Linked DNA regions of Homo sapiens: region 1 is linked to region 2. Evidence: promoter capture Hi-C in human tissues and cell types (Jung and others, 2019). All regions are on one chromosome and are shown on one strand. The core of a region is centred on a gene start or on the middle of the fragment in contact, and the rest is flanking DNA. Distances in the headings are between cores, read along the strand shown. Region 1 overlaps SCGB2B2 (secretoglobin family 2B member 2). Region 2 holds the start of ZNF792 (zinc finger protein 792).

Region 1 (3,330 bases), core at 322-2,821, 290 kb before region 2:
GTGTCTAGCTCAGGGATTGTAAACGCACCAATCAGCACCCTGTGGAAACAGACGGCTCGGCTCTCTGTAAAATGGACCAATCACCAGGATGTGGGTGGGGCCAGATAAGAGAGTAAAAGCAGGCTGCCCCAGCCAGCAGTGGCAACCAGCTGGGGTCCCCTTCCACACTGTGGAAGCTTTGTTCTTTTGCTCTTTACAATAAATCTTGCTACTGCTCACTCTTTGGGTCCACACTGCCTTTATGAGCTGTAACACTCACCATGAAAGTCTGCAGCTTCACTCCTGAAGCCAGCGAGACCACGAACCCACCAGGAGGAACTAACAACTCCAGACGCGCCGCCTTAAGAACTGTAACACTCACTGCGAGGGTCCGCGACTTCATTCTTGAAGTCAGTGAGACCAAGAACCCACCAATTCCAGACACAGTAGCATCTCTTCACTGTGTAACATGTGTTCCTAATGCACTTTCTATATCTCACTTCCTTTAGGTTCTGTGTTTTATTCCAGGTAATGTTCCTTGAATCTAAATTACAATTTACTAATTTTCACGAAAGCTGCACCTAATCTGCTACCCATTCAGACAAACAAACTCATTTATCAAATGTTTGTTGAACCGGCACTCGGTGGCAGATTCTGTGCTAGGGCGTGCCAAGTGCAGACACATGTTTGCCAAGACACACCGTTATGCCTCAGGGCCTCCTGGGTGCACATGCACACATGGACCTGCAGGCTGGCACCATAGTGCTCAGCCTGCTCCCAATCCCACGGTGCTCCAGGGAGGACACAGGATGTCACAGCAACACCCAACCCATCCCACTGCATGCTGAGCTTAGTTCCTGATACACTGTCACCCCAAAGGCATGGCCCAGGGCCGTGGGTCTCTCTGCAGACCTGCCCTGCCCCCACTTACACACACACACACACGAAGAGGTGTGTCTCATTTCCACCTGTGGGATTCTAATTTATGGCAGTGACTGAGTGACCACACAGAGAGGCCAATGCGATGGAAAACATTATTATTTACATTTCCCGGGGCACACCATGCCACACAGGGCCACATGGAGAGCACCAGTGCTGGTCAGGAGGCAGGAGCAAGGGGAACCCATAGGCCACAGCCTTTATTGGGGTTCCCATGGGAAAAGCCAGGCAGGGCAGAGTAAACAGCTTATGATTAGCTAGTTTGAATAATCCCGGCAGGCTTTGGCCTATAGTGTTGGTCTCTGGTTACCTGGTACCTGGTCATGGGGTGCTTCAGTGCAGGGGAGATATTGGCGTGGGGTGTGAGAGTTGGATAAAGAGGTAATCGGGGCTATAGATTCAGTGCCAGTTGGTTGTATATGAGACAGGTGCTCCAGGTCGAGCGTTTTGCCATCTCTAAGAAAAGACTAATCCTGGGAGGACAGTCTCCAGAGCCAGCAAACTTTAAAAGATGTCATCATAAAATACAGAAAATAAAAAGCATAATTACACCAAGTCGCAGAGTAAGTGGATGTTTACCTTTTCACAAACTGACTAACTGTGTTCCAAAGTGGTTATACTACTACATTCTTACCACAGTGTTATGAGGATTTCAGGTACTCCATATCCTCACCAACACTTGGTATGGTCAGTCTTTAATTTTCACTATTCCCGTTTGGTGTGCAGTGGTATTTCTCTGCGATTTTACTTTGTATCTCCCTAATAACTAATGTTTACAATTTTTATGTGTACTACTGCCATCCCTCTATCTTCTTTGGTTAGGTGTCTATTCAAATCTTTTGCCCATTTAAACTTTTTTCTTTATTATTGAGTTTTGAGAGTTCTTAATAAATAATGAATACAAGTCCTTCTTCAGATATGTGGTTTGCCAGTATAGTCTTCTAGCCTATGGCTCTTTTCTTCCTTCATCTTAAAAGAGCATGTCGCATAGCAGAAATGTTTACTGTTGACAAAGTTGAATGTGTTATTTTTTTCTTTGATTGAACATGTTTTTGGTGTATATTTCAGAAGTATTTGCCAAGATTTTAAAAATTCTCTCATGTTACTTAATGAAGGTTTCATATATTCAGGTTTATAATCCATGCTGAGTTAGTTCTTGAATATTGTATACCGTGTGAGGTTTGGGATCAGAACTTTGTGGCTGGTTTGTTTGTTTTGAGATGGAGTCTTTCTCTGTCACCCAGGCTGGAGTGCAGTGGTGCAATCTTGGCTCACTTCAACCTCCGCCTCCCGGGTTCAAGCAGTTCTCTGCCTCAGCCTCCCAAGTAGCTGGGATTACAGGCACCACCCCTGGCTAAGTTTTGTATTTTTAGTAGAGATGGGGTTTTAACATTTTGGCCAGGCTGGTCTTGAACTCCTGACCTCATGATACACCCACCTTGGCCTCCCAAAGTGCTGGGATTAAGGGCTGAGCTACTGCAGCTGGCCTGGTTTTTGTTTTAATATGGATGTCCAGTTGTTCCAACAACACTTGTTGAAAACACGATCTTCAGTGAATTGCCTTTGCACCTTTCTAAAACATCATTTGATCTTCTAAGTGTTGGTCTATTTCTGGACTTTCTTAATCTATATTTTTGCTAACATTTTAAAGTCTTAATTAACTTTATAATATGTCTTTAAATCAGGCAATGTAATCGTTTAACTTTATGCATCTTTTTCTTTTTTTTTTGCTATTCTAAGTGCTTTGTATTTTCATATCAATTTTAGAATTCACTTGTTATTTTCTAATAAAAGCATCGTGGGATTTTGATTGGATTGCATTGAATATATGTTTATCAATTTGAGAAGAATTAGCACATTAACAATATTGAGTGTTCTAATCCATAAACATTGTGTATCTCTCCTTTTATTTAGATCTTTAATTTTCCTCAGCAATCTTTTGTAGTTTTCAATGTACATATCTTGCACATCTTATGTGTCTCAAGTATATGTTGTATGCTCTTGTAAAAAGTGCTTTTAAATTTCAGTTTCAAATTGATCATTGTATACAGAAGTATAATTTTTTTAAAAAATTATTATTTACCCTGTAAATTTTATAAATTCATTTATTCCAGATTTTTTTCACAGATTCTATGGGATTTTCTCCATTAATATTTATGTTGTCTAACTTATTTGTTCAATTTTATGTGTTTATTTTCAAACTGGCAACTGTGAAATGTATTGGAAGATTATTCATAAAATTCCTTATTACTGTTTTAGAATCTGTAAAAGCTGGTTGTGGTGGTGCACTCCCATATTCCAAACTACCTTGGAGGCTGAAGCGAGTGAACTGCTTGAGCCCAGGAGTTCAAGACTTCAGTGAGCCATGATGGGGCCAATGCACTCCAGGTGGGGTGTAAAAATAAATAATTA
Region 2 (3,563 bases), core at 474-2,973:
TAATCAAACCCTGGCCATTTGGGACTGCTCATTACAGAAGTTATTGTTTTTACTTCCTGGATTGTCAGTCCAGATAGCAATCTGGCTTCCTGTGGGTCTGACAGACAGCAGGCTGGCTTCCTGCTGTATGGGTTGTTTATTGTAGATAAGGGGGTTGGTTTCCTGGGCAGGTTCTGGGGCAGAGTTCTATTTGTATACATGATCTGGCCATTGTTCGAATGAATATCCAGTCTCTCATTACCTTAACAACTCCCTCAGAACACCCGAACTGTGTGTTCAGCGGCCCACTCTTCAACTCCATTTGGGGGTCTCTGGGACATCACAGGCTCAACTTGGCCAAAACCTAACTTCTACTGCTTCCATGGAAAATTCCTCCTAAAACCAACTTCTCAGTTCATAAAGCTGGATTCATCAAACCAAAAACCATGGATTCTTCCCTCCTCTTTCTCACCCTCCACATCGGAAAATTTGGTCAGCTTGACTTAAAAGACATCAAGTTCCCAATCACTTCCTCTACCTCCAGTCCTCACTCTGGTCCGGCCAGCCGCAGCACTGGCCTGGGCTATTCCATTAGGCTACTCCTTGGCATCCCTGCTTGCGGCTCACTCCATATTCAGTTCTCCACTGTGCATCCACAGGGAGCCTGTTAAGACCTGAGTCACAGCATCTTCCTCCTCTGCCCTAAACCTTCCATGGCTCCCAACACCCTCAGAACAGAGGCCCAGCTCTGCCGTTCTGAGCTGTCTTCAGCCCACCTGCTCTCTGGTTCCAGCAGACATAATATTAATAACACTGACCTGGGTGGGGTTCCTTGAACACTCCCAACTCAGTCTCCACACCGTGCCCCACCCCACCCCCAAGCTTTTGCGCACGCTGGTTCCTGTGCCTACAAAGCCCTTTCTCCCTCCATCCCATTACATTTCAGCAACGGAAGCCACTTTATATAAACCCTGCCCTGATTCAGGATCCTAGCTGGGAGCAACTCCCTTCCAGGGTCCCCTGACTCAAAAGCAAGGAAATGGGAAAGGCGAAAAGTCCTAGAACAAAGCCATCTTTTGCGTCTCAACACCGAGAACAGAAGCGTGGGGGGCCGACAGCGAAGGGCCTAACGTCCAAGCACTCACCTGCGCGGGGTCCCGCAGCGCCGCCGCTGCCATCGGAGTCTGTGGTCAGAGCAGGGCCCCACGGTGCGGGAAACCACGGGGCGGGGGTAGGGGGTCTCGCAGGCTGAGGCTACCACCCACCTGGCCGTGCCCCAGACGAGGTGTGACCCCGGGCTGAGGGTCGCACTCCTAGCCTCAGTCTCCCCCGTGCAAAATGCGCAAGGGGCCCGGGGCGCAGGCTCCGGGGGCGCCGAGAGCGCGCAGCTCCGCTGGGTACCCCCGTTGCAAGGGGTCACGGCTGGTGCAAAGGCGCGGAGGGGGTCCCGGCCTCACTGTCCCCCTCGCGGTCCGGGAAAGCCGGCGGGGCAGCTTCACGGGCGTAGCCCCAGCCGCCCCGCCCCCAACTCGGGGTCCCCAGCTCCTGGGGACTCAGCCTCCCCGCCGGGAAATGACCTGCGAGGCTGCAGTGCAGGAAGTTCCGGCCCCCACCGTGGCGGCCGGGAGAGTTGCCCTCTCCCGTACTGTCATTGGCCTGGCGCCAGCCGCTGGTGCACAGGCAGGGCCTGGGGATCGCGAGTTTCTGCCCAGCCTCTCGTCAGGCTGAGGGTCCAGGGCGGGAAGGAGAGCGGATCTCGTCGGGTCTCCACCGCCGCCGCCTGCAGCCCTCGGGCCTTCCCCTTAAAGGGGCCGCTCCCGAGCCTGCAGCCGCCCGCGCTAAACCCCGCCCACCCTCCGAGGTCCAGGAGGAGAGCCCCAGTGCTCTTCCTGCGCGTGTGGGCATCGGCCAGCCGCTTCACCCCTAAGGGACCTAAATTCACACTGGAAAATGGGGATAGTACCCAATGGGCGGGGTCTTTGCGTTGTAATATTAAATGTCGCTCTGATTCAGGGCTTCTCAAACCAGCAACATCAGCATCACCTGGGGACTGGCTGAAAATGCAGGTTCTGGGGCAACAACTTAAATCTAAGGACTCAGAAATTCTGGGGATGGGATTCAGCCTTCTCTACTTTTTGCGGGGGGGGCGGGGGGGATGGGTCTCGTTCTGTTGTCCAGGCTGGAGTGCAGTGGCCTGATCATAGCTCACTGCAGCCTCCATCTCGGGCTCAAGCTATCCTCCTGCCTCAGCCTACCAGGTAGATGGGATACAGGCGTGCACCATCATACACAGCTAATTTTAAAATTTTTTGTAGAGACTGGATCTCCCTGTGATGCCTAGGCTGGTCTCAAACTCCTGAGCTCAAGTGATCCTCTCACCTCGGCCTCCCAAAGTGTTGGGAATTGCAGGAGTGAGCCATGGTGCCAGGCCTCCTTCTCTGTTTTAACAAGCCCTCTGGGGACTCCAATGCTGGCTCCAACTTTACAGCAGGGACTCTCATTGAAATCCAGTAAATAAAATGGGAAAAATAACACTACATTGTTGCAGGAAGTCAGGGACCCCGAACGGAGGGACCTGCTGAAGCCGTGACAGAAGAACATTAATTGTGAAGATTTCATGGACATTTATTAGTTCCCCAAATTAATACTTTTATAATTTCTTATGCCTGTCTTTACTGCAATCTCTGAACATAAATTGTGAAGATTTCATGGACATGTATCGCTTCCCCAATCAATACTCTTGTGATTTCCTATGCCTGACTTTACTTTAATCTCTTAATCCTGTCATCTTCGTAAGCTGAGGATGTATGTCATCTCAGGACCCTGTGATGATTGCGTTAACTGCACAGATTGTTTGTAGGGCATGTGTGTTTGAACAATATGAAATCTGGGCACCTTAAGAACAGGATAACAGCGATTTTCAGGGAACAAGGGAGATAACCTTAAAGTCTGGCTGCCTGTGGGACGGGCAGGACAGAGCCATATTTCTCCTATTACCAAAAACGGGTAAGAGAAATATCGCTGAATTCTTTCCCCAGTAAGGAATATTAATAATTAACAGCCCTGGGAAAATAATGCATTCCCAGGGCAGTGCCTCTAAAATGGCTGCCCTGGGAGTGTCTGCCTTATGCACATGTAGATAGGGATGAAACACACCCTAGTCTCCTGCAGCGCCCCCAGGCTTGCTAGGATTAGGAAATTCCAGCCTGGCGAACTCTAGTCAGACCAGTTCTCTGCTCTTGAACCCTGTTAAGATGTTTATAAATGACAATGCGTGCACAGCAGGACATGGAAGCTCATGAGTGATTCTAGTTTTGCCCTGACCTTGTGATCTCGCCCTGACCTTCTGCCTTGTGATCTTTTGTTGCCCTTAAAGCATGTGATCTCTGTGACCCACACCCTATTCGTACACTCCCTCCCCTTTGAAAATTGCCAATAAAAACTTGCTGGTTTTATGGCTCGGGGGCATCACGGAACCTGCTGACATGTGATGTCTCCCCCAGACACCCAGCTTTAAAATTTATCTCTTTTGTACTCTTTCCCTTTATTTCTCAGACCAGCCGACACTTAGGGAAAATAGAAAA

What was found. The method cuts DNA at HindIII sites, captures the fragments that hold promoters and counts their contacts. A contact is called where the count stands out against the background at its distance.
Region 1: a fragment that was not itself captured here is called in contact with the fragment with the promoter of ZNF792 in region 2 in 1 of the 25 tissues and cell types used here (liver).

The regions. Positions count from the first base shown.
Region 1 is chr19:34,668,807-34,672,136 of GRCh38, forward strand. All of the region lies in intron 1 of SCGB2B2 (secretoglobin family 2B member 2), which reads right to left. It also overlaps the pseudogene ZNF807P and the pseudogene SCGB1B2P. Among named protein-coding and RNA genes, the nearest start is that of SCGB2B2, 6.7 kb to the right of the region's middle. The HindIII fragment of the contact is 6,284 bases long and covers 1-3,330 here.
Region 2 is chr19:34,962,506-34,966,068 of GRCh38, forward strand. ZNF792 (zinc finger protein 792) reads right to left here and starts at 1,724. Exons shown (of 4, transcript NM_175872.5): 1 at 1,125-1,724. The coding sequence starts at 1,157. LOC124904699 (a long non-coding RNA gene) reads left to right here and starts at 921. Exons shown (of 2, transcript XR_007067236.1): 1 at 921-1,168. RefSeq lists silencers at 1,066-1,115, 1,226-1,485. The HindIII fragment of the contact is 10,198 bases long and covers 1-3,563 here.